Linked DNA regions of Homo sapiens: region 2 is linked to region 1. Evidence: promoter capture Hi-C in 16 types of primary human blood cells and fetal thymus (Javierre and others, 2016). All regions are on one chromosome and are shown on one strand. The core of a region is centred on a gene start or on the middle of the fragment in contact, and the rest is flanking DNA. Distances in the headings are between cores, read along the strand shown.

Region 1 (6,759 bases), core at 4,164-6,663:
TAAAGGCTCTGAAAGACATCGACAGGTTCTCCTTAGCACAAAGTGCTAAACTGACCCTGGGCTAAAAGAGGACTCAGCGTCCCATCTTTGAGACTCTTGCTCTATGGCAAGCTGCCACAGTGCACCCAGCCTTCTCAGTTTTTATCAATACCATCCTGCCTGCCAGTACAGAGGCCCTGGCAGGAAGGTGGCCGAGGCTCTGGCGGCACTGAGGGCATGCAGACTGCAGGGTAAGAGGGAAGATGATGAGGGCCAGTTCTTGGAAGTTTACTGGGCCACACTTTTGCAATCTACACTCCCCATTTATCTCAGAGCCTAGCTTCTACATGAAGAAGTCCAAGTATGAAATACTCATGTTTAGAAGGTAAACTCCTTTCTCCCTACCAGAGGAAGAGAGCTGAATCCTGGATAGAAGCCATAAAAAGATAGCTGGCTCTTAGTATGTACTGTGATAATTTCCTGATTTCTAATAGACATTTTGCCTTATAGTGTTCCAGAATTCCCCCAGAGTCTAATCCTACAACTGAGTGAGTGTGGCACTTGGTTCAGAAAGTTGTTCCATGGCAGAGCTGCGGCTCTGGCCAAATCCTGAGATACTCCTGATATTGGTAAACACTACTCTGCTGAAAGAGACACTAATGATTACTAGTCACTGAGTGAGTGCCAGATGCCAGCAGCGCTTTACATAGTCATCCATTCATTCATTTACATGGTCATGCCTAGCTGAATGTCTGGTATCGTGCCAAGTACCTCCTAGTTGTTATCTCATTACTCCACCAAGTAGATGTTATTATTACCACATGTTATTCAAGGAGCTGGAAGGCAGACAAGTTAAATAACTTAAGTGGGATCACACTGCTATGATTTGAACCCAAGTCTGTCTGACTCCAAAACCCAGCTTGTTCCACTACCCCACGCTGCAAGGGAAGAGGGGGTGCAGGATCAGAAGCCCTCAGCCAACCCATGGGGCTGCCTAAGTGGGGCCTGAGCTTCCCTACCCTAAGGACCATTATAGGATCACAGTTTGATGACCCAATCTAGAGCAGGCCCCCGGCCTCTCCTTCCCTAGGCCAACCCAGCCCTTGTGCTAAGGGCCAAAGCCTTACTCGCATTTTTCTTTTGCCTCTTTGGGGTGTGTGCTAGGCTGATAGTAAATTGTGGCAGCAATTTTCTTGAAGAACGCTGAGTTCTTTTGGCCAGCTGGGCCTGGCAGCTGCTCCCAGGCCCAGCCTCTCTGGCTCCATAAGGAGGGGTAGGCACACTTTGCTTTAAGCATCTCCCTTATACACCAGAGCTGAAAAGGACAAGTTTGCTAGGACATCAACCTTGATCCACACACAGCACTCTAGGGAACAGGCCTGACCTTCTTCAAAGGGCTTAGAATCTTCAACCATGGCCTTACCAGACTTGTGGATCTCAAAAGTGCCCTCTCGTCCAAGGCATTGCCCCATACCAGGTCCTACCTTCAAGTCCTGGCTGTCTGCCTCCCGCAGCTTCTGGAGCCTGAAGTCTCCCTCGCAGGGATTGAGGGCCGATGGGGGTGCTACACAGGCACACTTGCACGACGAGCCTGAGGTGATGGTTTCCACGGTATAGAAGTCTTCCTTCCTGGAGGCCCCCGCATTGATCCTCTGGCAGGCATCCCGGCCCAGGGGTCTCACCACACACTTGCACTGACAGTCCGAGCCCTCAGACATAGCCTTGACCTTGTCATAGTCCCCCAGCAACTAGACACACAGAAAACGGGTTAGGGGCATGCAAACACAGGTGTCAGTCAGCCTCCAGAAGGAGGCTCTCCATTTACTTAGTCAAATGTCCTGCACTAGTCAGAGACCTCAGAAAACTCTGAACCACAGAGCCAATAGGTCACTGAGATGCAGTTTGCTGACTCTGACATTTCCTTGAAGGCATTCAGAGTTCAGCTCTCTTCGTTTGTCTTGGAAAGCTGTGCCTTTCTCATGGGGCCTTAGCCTTTCATTATTTAAAGGAAAAACCAGATGAGCCAAGTCATTTGTCCAATAGCCTTTGCCTTCTGCTACAATCCAGGTTTAGGCTTTCTTTTCTTTCTTTCTTTTTCTTTTTTTTTTTTGAGACAGAGTCTCACTCTGTTGCCCAGACTGGAGTGCAGTGGCATGATCTCAGCTCACTGCAACCTCCACCTCCCAGGTTCAAGTGATTCTCCTGCCTCAGCCTTCCAAGTAGCTGGGATTATAGGCACATGCTACCATGCCCAGCTAATTTTGTATTTTCAGTTTCACCATGTTTGCCAGGCTGGTCTTGAACTCCTGACCCTAAGTGATCCACCTGCCCCGGCCTCCCAAAGTGCTGGGATTACAGGCGTGAGACACCGCACCCAATCAGAATCCAGGTTTAAGTGTAAAAAGGAAAAGAAGAAATTGGAGAGATTGAAAAGTTGGTATTCAAGTTTGAAGACTACTGGCATCTCTCATTCATTTATTCAACATTTATGGAGTGCCTACTAAGGACTGTGAGGTGCTGTGAAGGATAAAGAGATGGGCCAGATGGAGAGCCTGCTCTCAAGAAGCCTACAGTGCAGGAGGCATAGAAATAGCAGTCACACAGAGTACAGAGTGATAAGTGCCCCCGAAGAGGCAGAGGGAAAGGGCAGTGGGAGCTAAGAGCGGCTCCAACTGGAAGCCAGGGAAGACTTCTTCGAGGAGTGGCATTTAATCTGGGCCTTGAAGGATGGGTTAGATGTGGAGAAAGGGAATTGAGAGGAAAGAGGCAGGTCCAGAAGTTAGTAAGGTTTACTCAGTCTAAGAGTTCATGCTTCTGAACCTAAACCCCAGGCCAAACCCAGGAAAGCAAACTGGCAGCACTTGCTGCTTTTGCAATGCTAAACATTTCCTTCTGGGCACTTGCCCCTGCCAGCCTCCCCAGGCAGGAAAACACGCGACAGTAGGCTTTCTGGAGCCCCAACTCTGGGCGCTTGCTGGGAAAAGGCTCTTCTCTCCCAATCCTCTCCAAAAGGCCCTACATCCCCAAAGCCAGGGCTCCCTTCCTAGGCAGGCAGAAGGGTTCCCTTCATTTGATTAATGATTTCAGTGGGCAAGCATTGAGCTTGTTTGAGTAGAAATGTTCCTTGGGATGCTGTCTGGGGGAAGAAGACTTGTAATGTTTTCCTTGCAAAGATTGGGTTTCTTCTAATACTAATATTTGCTTTAGGGCTGTTGTCAAACACAGAATGGATCAGTGGAAGAAGGTGGTGTAGTTAAGGGTGACTTAAGCGGCTGTTCTTTACGGGCTGATAGTAAATTGTGGCTGTCTGCTCTCTGAAACTCTGCCTGGATTCCTACATAACCCTGCTCTGAGAACCCTGGGTGGATTCCTTCCTTACAGGAGGCTCGGGTTTCAGGAAAGTTTTTGTTGATAGTGTTCCAGAGCCCCAGTGTGAGAGATTTTTATGTCTTTTCGATTTAGGGGTCAGTGGGAGGTAATGGGGGGGCAGAGGGCATACATTAGCATCATTATTAAAGGAAGAGTGAGGAGGCTAGTGTTTGATAAATCCCAAAGTGCAGCTGATTATTCTCTCTACAGGAAGGAGACAAGGCCCAGTCCTAGGGCTTGGTGGAGGTGAAGGTACAGGCAGCCCTGGAGGATCCTTTTTCAGACATCCCCCATTCTGAGGATTCTGGTGACACCCACCACACGTCATCATGCCGGCTCTGGAGAGCACAAAATAAACACTCCAGAGAGAACTACCCCTTACAGACATGAGATCTGGGCTGAAGACTGTCAGACGCCCTGGCTCTACCCATGTATCTCTTCTTTTTTTTTTTTTTTTTTTTTTTTGAGACGGAGTCTCACTCTGTCACTCAGGATGGAGTGCAGTGGCGCGATCTCCGCTTACTGCAACCTCCACCTCCCGGGTTCAAGCGATTCTCCTGCCTCAGCCTCCTGAGTAGCTGGGACTACAGGTGCCTGCCACCACGCCTGGCTAATTTTGGTATTTTTAGTAGAGATGGGGTTTCATCATATTGGCCAGGCTGCTCTTGAACTCCTGACCTCGTGATCTGCCCGCCTCGGCCTCCCAAAGTGCTGGGATTACAGGCGTGAGCCACCGCGCCCGGCCTACCCATGTATCTCTTATGGTCTTTATCTATAAATGGGTATTAGGGTGTTTTGAAGATTGAGTCAGAAAAAACAAGTTTAAGTACTTGGTAAACGGACACTTTACGAAGCCCATCACTATCATGGGTTACTCGGGCCCCCACTGACAGTCTGCCCTAGCTGCCTGCATCTGCATTCCCACTCTCCCCTCCCAGTACACTCCGTCATGTTCTCAGTCTCTCTGTTTGGGGGTCACCTCACATTCATCACACATGCTTCTGTTCTGACTTCACCCCATGCTCCCGCCTGGTGTCCCACCCTCTGCCATAAAGTATCTCCCGATGGGATATGCCATCTGCCTCCTGGTCAACATATCCGGCTGTTTTCACATTCCAATTCTGACAGACAGCCACATAGACAAGAGATACTTTTTACAACCCTGAAACCAAAAACAACTTTGTTTTCTTTCTTCTCAAGAAGTCGAGCGGCATCTTCCCTTCCTTCACCTCTCCTTTCTCCTGATTTGATGACCTTTAAGCACCCTATGATTTTGCGAGGAGAACCTATATCCTTCCATTAAGAAAATATTCCGATACATGAAAAATCAAAAGCCCTTTCCATTGGTAATGGAAGGAAAAACAGCTGCCCTCAAACACTTCAGCAAGGACCAGCTTCTGGCTCTCACCACCATCCAGGGCAAGAAGGGCGGTCGTGGCACTCTGCATCCTACCTGAGATAAAACGTTCTCCTGGTTGTCCGCCTCGTTTTGCAGAGTCTCGTCCTCCGCAGGCGCCACTGTCTGCGCATCTGGGGGCTCGCTTGTCCCTGTGAGGACAATGCTGGACACCCAGGCCGGAACCACAATCAGAGCGAAGTAGAGAACTAGCAGCCGAGGCTTGGCCATGAGGGGCGCGATAAGAGTGTCCTCAGCCCCTTCAGAGAATGGCTGGGGCGGGGGGTCTCGGCAAGGACTTCTGCGAGAGGGTGTCCTCGCTAGAGCCCGAAAGTGGCTGCTGAGAGCACCTTCTAAAGCTGGGTGCGGCTGAGCGGGACGGGAGGGTGCGCCCCAGAGACTCTGGGCATCTCCTTCCCGACGCGAGCAGCCCTCGACTGTGCAGCCCCAGTGGAGAGCCGGACGCAAGGAAGAGGGGATGACGGAGAAGGTGGAGGCGGGCACGGGCTAGCTGAGCGAGTCGCCCGCAGGAGGGCTCAGGTGGCTGGAAGGCGTTCGGACAGACGCCCGCGGTGCGCGCCGGGACGGGCGGCGGGGAGCCTCGGGACGCACGGGGACCGGACACGGGGAGGGAAGAGGCGGTGGCGGCGCGGGCTGCTGGGCGAGGGCTGCTGGGCTAGGGAGCCGCGGAGAGCTCGCGCGGAAGGAGGGCGGAGCCTCTATTGTGCCGGGGCGGCGGAGATGCAGCCAGTGACCGCGCGGAGGAGGAGGACCTGGAAGCGCACAGGGCTCGGGCGGAGGGGTACCCGGCGGACCCCGTCCCCGCTGGGACTCAGCTGCCGCGCGCCGGCTGAGGGTGACGTTGGAAGGGCTTTACTTTCTTCTCATCTGATCGCAAGTGAGTGAAGAGAAGTTACTCCGAGCGGCGTCCCTGAAGTTTTGGGGTTCGACCATTCTTGGCGAGAAGAGCGACTTTCCATCGCAGGCACCCAGCGCTCGCTCCAAGGCTGAGCTAGTTAGGGATCTGCGGCATCGTCCTTTAGCACACCTGGGGCAGGGGAGAAGGCGCGTTTGTTCCCAGGCGTTTCTTTTCCCTGACTTAACTCTGGGCGAGTTCTCGGGCAGCTTTGAACTTAGCGCCGTTGGTAGCTGCTTGCCTGCCACGGCTTTAGAACCTAGTAATACCTCCACCCAGAGGAAAATCATTGAATTCCTTCCTAGAGTGTGTCCTGAGTTGTGTAAACGTTGAAAGTTAGGGGAATGACTGTACATCTCCGACACTCTCCGCGAGTCCCCATGGGGAAAGCTACTGCCTGATAAATGATTACCAAAGGGAACAGCTCTTCCTGTCTTCCTGGTTTGGGACAAATCTCCGGGTCTCTGTTACCAGATTATCTCTAAGAGGGAGTCCACTTTCAATAGTGTGCAATTATGTTACTATGTCCCTCAATTACTGAGGACAACCTTTTATAAACCTACAGTGAAGATTACCAATATGTGAATTTAAGGAAGGGCACTGTGCCATCCTGGACAACTGTCACTCGGAATATTGAACAGAGCCAGGCCCCTTCAAAGGATATTATGCACCCTTGGGAAATTCAAACACCTTGCTTCTTATGCTGAGGAATAAGGGTTGTAATAAACTAAGGAAACTAGCGCATATAAGTAATAGTTGACATAAGTATAATAATAACCCTTATTAGTATATTTTAATCTTCAAAAAATTCAGTTTATGGACAAAAATTCAATGCTCTGGGTGTCTAGGTTTGTGGGGACATCATGCACACACCCTCCTCTGTGTAAGCTATCAAATCTTTTCTGAAACTATATGGGGGTAAACATTGATAAAATGTGGTGTATTTGATTGTTTGTTTGAGACAGAGTCTTGCTCTGCCACCCAGGCTGGAGTGCAGTGGCGGGATGATCTTGGCTCACTGCAACCTCCGCCTCCTGGGTTCAAGTGATTCTCGTGCCTCGACCTTCAGAGTACCTGGGATTACAGGCGCACGCCACCA
Region 2 (7,062 bases), core at 445-2,944, 140 kb before region 1:
CTTTTTAGTTTCGTGGAGAAATTAAGTTTTAGTGGGGGTCGATACAGCTTTTTTTTTTTTGTAGAAAATCAGGTAGCATGGGCTTTGGAGTCAGACAAATCTCGGTTTTAATTTTCAGTGTCCTTATCTCTAATATAGTAATATTAATAGTTACCTCTTCCTGGGTTGTTGAGAGGTTTAAATGAAATAATAAGTTAAGTACTGGCACAGTGCTTAACACATAATAGGTATTCAAGATATGTATACTTCTTTATCATCAGGGGATTGACCTTGGAAGCATATGGGTACATAGAAAGAACCCATAAAAGGATATGACAAGGGGAGAGGAGTTTGTTTTCATTAGATTTAGCAAATTCATTCTTTCCCCCAACTCCCCAGAAAAATTCATTTTAATGCTATTATTTTCCTTATCACCCATAAACAGACAGAAAATTGGCATGTTTCGAAAGAGTGTTAAAACTGCAAGAGTATTACATGGTATCATTACACTACCATCCATTATCTAACTGGGTTTATTTATGAAGGTTAGATTTAGATAATTTAGACTTACCCTTTTTCCATTTTGTGGGGAAAGAGAATCAGAAACTTGAAAGGAAGAGCTCTTCCAAACAGAAAGATAGCTAGAATCTCTCTCAATAGTCTATATAATCTCTTCTAATAATCTTTAGCAAAAGTGACTTTTGAGTTCTTTTAAATATTTCCTGTATTGATTCTAATTCAGTGCTCATTTCATGTGATGTCTATAGAACTACAGACTTAGATTACAGTCAGAAAACTGAGTAACAGCAGACACCAGGTTTTCAGCTGTTTTTAGGGTTTATTCAGATTGACTACATCACATTCATTTGGATGGATTTAGTGACATCAATTGATAATTGTAAAGAAACTAGCCTTTAATCTGACATTTTCATATTGATATTAGATAGGAGCCACATGACTATGTCATGGGTTCATTCACAAGATATAATAAACATTATTTTCACTTGTAGCATAAAAGCAGTCTTTAGTGTTATCTTAGAAGCATTAAAACACACACATATATAAAATCATATAGATTAAAAAATTCTATCAGCATAGGTTCTGTAATTGTTAATAGATGTAATTGCATAAGGTCGCTATGCATTATTTCTCATTTTCAGATGAAGCCTGTCACCTTGACATTTTTATATATAATAGGAATCCACAGGTTGTTAAAAACATAAGGAAATTAAGATAATTTGAATTCAGATTATAAAATAGTTCAGGTCTATTCTGATGAAGCAATGTCACTTAGGTCTGAGGCTTTTGGGTCAGCTTTTAAAAGTTTATCTTATTTTTCATTAAAATATGTATGTATAATACTCTATCATGCAAAGAGAAATGGTCAACAGAATTTCTGTGCATATATGGTTGCTGGTTATTTGAAAGCCATTCTCCTCCTAGGATTATTTGACCAATTTTGTATTCAGCTTAGATTAGGGAGAATATAGTGTCTCCTTAGGTAAAATACTTACTAGAACCAAAAAGTCCAGATTAAATTGTTTTTATTTTTATTTTACTGCAGTTTTGTGCAGTTGACCTGATTTTAAAATATAAAACTAGGAAGGCATATTTTTCATCTACCAAAATGTGAATCTTACTTTCATTTTGAAACAAACACCTCTGCTTTAAGAAGATGAACGGTAGTGATAAATACAAAAACGTTAAAATTTTTTAAATGAATAGCGTTTGTTGATCTTTAAAGAAAACATAAATGTGAAATAACTTTAGAGCTTAAAAGTTTTCTTCCTCAAACCTTTTAGGAATTGATTTTATTATCCAAAACAACTTTATTCATACTAAGTGTGACTATCTGAATAATTACCTTACTTTTATAGTTTTTTTTTTAAAAAAGCTCTTCTAACTGTAATTATCCTCAAAGAATTGGATTAAGAAATTCAATAATTTTCTGTCATTAGTCCAGCGAGATATTTACTGAATAGCCATTACGTTCCTGGCTGTTAACACTACAAGGACTCCAGCAATGAGCAAAGCAAACAAGCCCTTGCTTTTCCAGAGCCCACATTCTAGAGTCAGATGCTAAACAAATACACAGATACATATATAATAAAATATTGGTTTAAGTGTTGAAAAGCAAAATCAGAGTAAGAAGGCAGGTAGTCATTTTAAATTAACATTGAGAAATGTTTCCATTTTAAGCATATAAATTCTTTGGCTTCTCTTTTTAAATTTGCTTTTGACTGTTTGTTGCTGGCGAAAATTATTTAAAGTAATTAGGAACTCATCGTAAATATTTTGTACACTACTCTAAAAATCTAATTCCAACTAGTGAATTTAGCATTTATAAATGGAGGTGTCTATAGAGGAATAAAATCTTTGGTTAACCACTACTTTACTTTTAGCAGTAAAGTCTGCAGCTCATGAAATTTGTAATTCTGGAGTGGTTTCAGTTTGCACCATCCCCTGGGGAGCCTGTTGATACAGCACTGAGCTACAGATTATTATTCAGCTGTAGAAGTTTTATGCTTAGGCATTTTCTTACATCTTCTTCTCTCAGTCAGTTGAAATCTTGTATTTTTGCCAAATAAAACAAATCCTATATTAATAAGAAGCTATAAATAAACAGTAGGAGCATGAGTCAGAGCCAGCATCACCCCATTCCTTGTGTGTACCTCTCTAGTACTCCCCAGTATGTTCCTTTTGCACAAACATGTAGTACTGCGTAACTACTGTTCTACAGATGAACTCCAGTTATTTAAGTGAGGCCTGTTTTTTAGAACTAAGTAATACTGTAACTAGTAGAATTCTGGCATGTTACCACAGTCAAAAGCAGAATGTGAAGCTGTATGCTATTGATGGGAGGAAAAAAGAAATATATTTCCTACCTTTCCTGTATAAAGCCCAGAAGATTCCTGTTAGATTTCCAAAATGGGTTTTTATATAATATAATATAATTCAACATTTTTTTCAGAGGAAAAAAGAAAAAGATAAGTTGCTTGAAAGTCCCATCTCTTTTGCTAGTCGGCTTCTGTCTGATAAAATTTTATTCTGTTTTGCTTCATTGTTTATTCATTCAGTAGATGTTCATTGAACACTTACTGTTACCAGGCACTGTGCTACCATAGACGGTATAAAGACAAATAAGCTAAAATCCTTGTTCTCAAGGAATTTATTATTGTAGAGAAAAGTGACTTGTAAATCCAAAATTTCATACTGGGATAGGAACTATAAAAGAGACATCCTGCAGAATACTGAGATTATAAATAAAACTAGTATGTTTGAAGCATTTAGTGTCCTAGCTGTTTTATAGAAGTCATTTCATTTAATCCTTTCAACAGCTTTATGAGGTAGATATCATTACACTATTTTACTTGTGCCAAGAGCACTACATTCATCAAGGAAGGAGGAGGTAGTATCAAATTTTTCAGAAAACAAGAGAGTTGGTTATAGAAGGATGAGTAGGGTAGAGAGTAGGAGGAAGATGAGGCAGTGTGGCATTTCAGACAGAGAGGTGAATATGTAAGCACACAGGATGAGTGAGAGAATTGTTGGAATGTAGTCAGTTCTAGGAAATAAAAGATGGCAGGGTCCAGATCATGAAGTTTGGTTCTTAACCTGTAGAAGACAGAAATATGATCAGACTTGCATTTCAGGAAGATAACTCTGTAATTGTTTGCAATTCCTGTTAAACGAAGAAATTTTCTCCAGCATTGACTTATGTTTATTAAATACATATAAAAACTAAATTCTAGAAACATCTTATACAGTTATACATCACTTAGCAATGGGATACATTCTAGGAAATGCATTGTCAGGCAATTTCTTCATTGTACAAACGTCATAGAGTATACTTACACAAACCTAGATGTATATCTTTGTTTATATTTATTTTTTCATATGGAAAACCAAATTTCTTAGCCATGTTACTGAATGTCAGTCATTTCCCTTACTTGATCTGCATCACCAACATTAAGTGCCATGTATCAGATTTCTGTATATGTTCCATTATAATCTCATGGGACCACCATAGTACATGCGGTCCATTGTTGACAGACACATCATTATGTGGTGCGTAAGTGTACTTATAGTTTTACAACTACAAAGTGAAGCACAGAGAGGTTACATAACTTAGCCAGTGTCACACAGCTAATAAGTAGCAAAGTCAGGATTCGACATGTTAAGCCAACTTCATGGACTTAACCACAGTCCTGTATTGCCACTCCTCTTCATTTAAAGGCATGCATGCACATATTAGATTTGGAGACAGTTCTAGAGACACTGAATTGGCAACTACAGTCGACAAAGAGACATTGCAGCAAGTACCTCTACGTTGTTTGTTTCTGTACCCTTAACTTGCAGTGGTCTACAAGAAAGAATGAAGGAAGGGAAGTGATATATTTGTCAACCCTAACTACATTGTAAAATGAAGCTTTTTTTTTTTCTTTTTTTGAGAGGGAGTCTCGCTTTGTCACCCATACTGGAGTGCAGTGGTGCGATCTCAGCTCACTGCAACCTCCACCTCCCGGGTTCAATCTGTTCTCCTGCCTAAGCCTCCCGAGTGGCTGGAATTACAGGCATATGCCACCACACCTGGCTAATTTTTGTGCTTTTTTTTTTTTAGTAGAGACGGGGTTTCACCATGTTGGCCAGTCTGGTCTCGAGCTCCTGACCTCAACTGATCCGCCTGCCTTGGCCTCCTAAAGTGCTGGGATTACAGGCTTGAGCCACTGCACTCGGCCTGAAGCATTTTATGATGCTCACTACCAAGTGTTCATAAGCGGTAAATAAAGCCCTTGGGCTAGGTAATGTAAGATCCATTGCAACCTGGAGATGAAGAACTTTGTAAAGGGGATAATTGTTATCACCCATCAGAGCATCAGAGTTTTAAGATGATCTAGATTTAGTCCCACTAATTATATTTCTCCTAACTTTTATAGACAGAGAAATCAGTGAAAAATATGTATTTCTAAGGATTAAATCCCAATCCATAGCTCAAGGCTACCTTTATGTCTAATAGTTGTGATATAATATGTTGCTTAGAATAGGTTCTATAAATGGAATTCACACATAGGACCCCAGAATCGCTTCTTCACAGGGTTTCAGAGTTGGAGGACATATAAAAGGATAAATCAATCCATAAATCTCTAAGTATTCCTAAAAGAAGAGTGGTGTGTCAGTTATTGGCACCAGTACATCATGAATCCTGCTGGGCTGTGGAGAAAGGAGAAACTAACCTGAACAAGACTATACTCTACACAGCTGTCCCTGACATTCTACCACCTGTTAGCATTCAGTATTAATTTCATGGATCAAATCAAGGCATGCAAGTGCATTAAATAACTTTTTAAAAAACAACTGCTGATTGCTGACGTCTATGAGGGAAGAAAAATTAGGGGCTGTTATTTTCCTATCAACCATCACTCTCATTAACAAGAACAGGAAACATTACGAATAAATAAAACTCTTACATCATACCAGAAAAAAGAACAGCTGAATCCCCTAAAGGATTTCATATTCTATCATCAGACAACGAAAGAAAATAATTCCATATAAATGGCTGCATGAATCATTGAAAGAAACTTCCCTGCTTTTTTAAAAGAGCAACTAGAAGTATTTACTTTTTGAAAATAGAGTAACCATTTGTTAAACCGTATATACCATTGAAGATGTTTTGGGTATAAAAGGGAATTTCCATAATAATTACATAGTAATCTTTTATAGCCAAAGTTATGAAGAAGATCAGGATTTGGGAAAATTGTGGTCAATATTTGATTTTCCTTTTCTGTTTGATAGCCTTATCTAAATTCCCCTAGCTTGAATGTAGTAAATATGAGTGTGTAAAAATGTGTATCTAATTCACCTCTTGGGGGAGGTTTAATGTAACTATAAATAAAAATTCTTTCCCCAGGTTAAAAAAAAAGTTACATAGTGTTTAATTCTACCTTTTCTCATTTCTCTATATCCAAAACTATCACCAAGTACTGTTAATTTTACTTTATAAAGCTCTCTTGATATGTCTCTTCAACCTCATCACCACTGCTTTAAATGAGGCATACTTCCTCATTTGGATTATGGCAGCAGTCTCTCTTCCTTTAGTCTCTCCTTCAAATCCACCTCCATCCTTCATATCATCCATCATGTATTTTTCCCTGCCTAAATTCCTTGGTTGGCTTCTATTAAATCCAAGTTCCTTAAGCATGGCAAACAGGGGCCAGCTTCCACGAGCTGGTCCATACCTCTCCTGCCTTATTTCCTGACACTTTCCCTTATACCTTGAGATCCAGCTTGCCAGTATTTCCCCAATACCTCCACCGCATATACAACCACATACATATACACCCTTATCCCCTCCCTCATGTACCACCCATATATAATTCTCTTTACCGCATCCTTTATCACACTCCTACAAGCCTTGAAGCAATCTGAACATAGAAACCATCTTTGATTTTCAACTCCTAATTGGGACTGAACATACTTGTCTTGAACACAGATTGCTGCCTTGTTAGTATAGGTATCCTAATATGGCACATGTGTATAGTTGAAGCTATAATGCATTCCCCAAGTTCCCTTTCAGGACTAAAGGGTTATTTCCCAACAGCTGGAAGTCCTGCTGCCAGACAGCCTTCTTCAGGAATTGCCTTGTCCCCAACTCAAGACAACCCTGAAGGACCTTTCCCAGTTTTCCATGGGGTCCACTGAGGCCTTGAGATTGTACTGAAGTCAACTTCTCCCTCTGCTGTCGCTTCCCTTCCACAGGTGTTTATCACAAGAACAATCCTTAATAAACTTCCTGTAAGCACACTCTCAGAGTCAGCTTGCTGGGGAACCCAAGCTATAACAACATGTTTATCTTGTTCACACTTTCTTCTGAGTTCTAAATCATGGGAAGTTACAGTTATCCAAAATCTTACTAATTGGAAGATCATTTCATCAGACGTGTATTGAGCACCTGCTTCATGTCAGGCATTGTGCCAGATACAATGGAAACAAATCAAGACTTGGCCTCTGTCCTTGAGTTTACAGTCTGAGGTGACAGTTACATATGAACCTAACTGTATTAAAGCATCTTGAGAATCTTTTTGA

Evidence for each region. Contacts are between HindIII fragments. The CHiCAGO score rates a contact against its expected background, and 5 or more counts as called.
Region 2: a fragment that was not itself captured here is called in contact with the fragment with the promoter of OLFML2B in region 1 in 6 of 17 cell types (naive CD8 T cells, total CD4 T cells, M0 macrophages and 3 more); the score reaches 7.8 in naive CD8 T cells.

The regions. Positions count from the first base shown.
Region 1 is chr1:162,018,456-162,025,214 of GRCh38, forward strand. OLFML2B (olfactomedin like 2B) reads right to left here and starts at 5,414. Exons shown (of 8, transcript NM_015441.3): 1 at 4,802-5,414; 2 at 1,464-1,727. The coding sequence starts at 4,975. RefSeq lists silencers at 5,526-5,675, 5,744-6,038. The HindIII fragment of the contact is 12,162 bases long and covers 1-6,759 here.
Region 2 is chr1:161,882,662-161,889,723 of GRCh38, forward strand. The region is part of intron 14 of ATF6 (activating transcription factor 6); the gene reads left to right. Among named protein-coding and RNA genes, the nearest start is that of ATF6, 120 kb to the left of the region's middle. The HindIII fragment of the contact is 5,424 bases long and covers 1-4,406 here.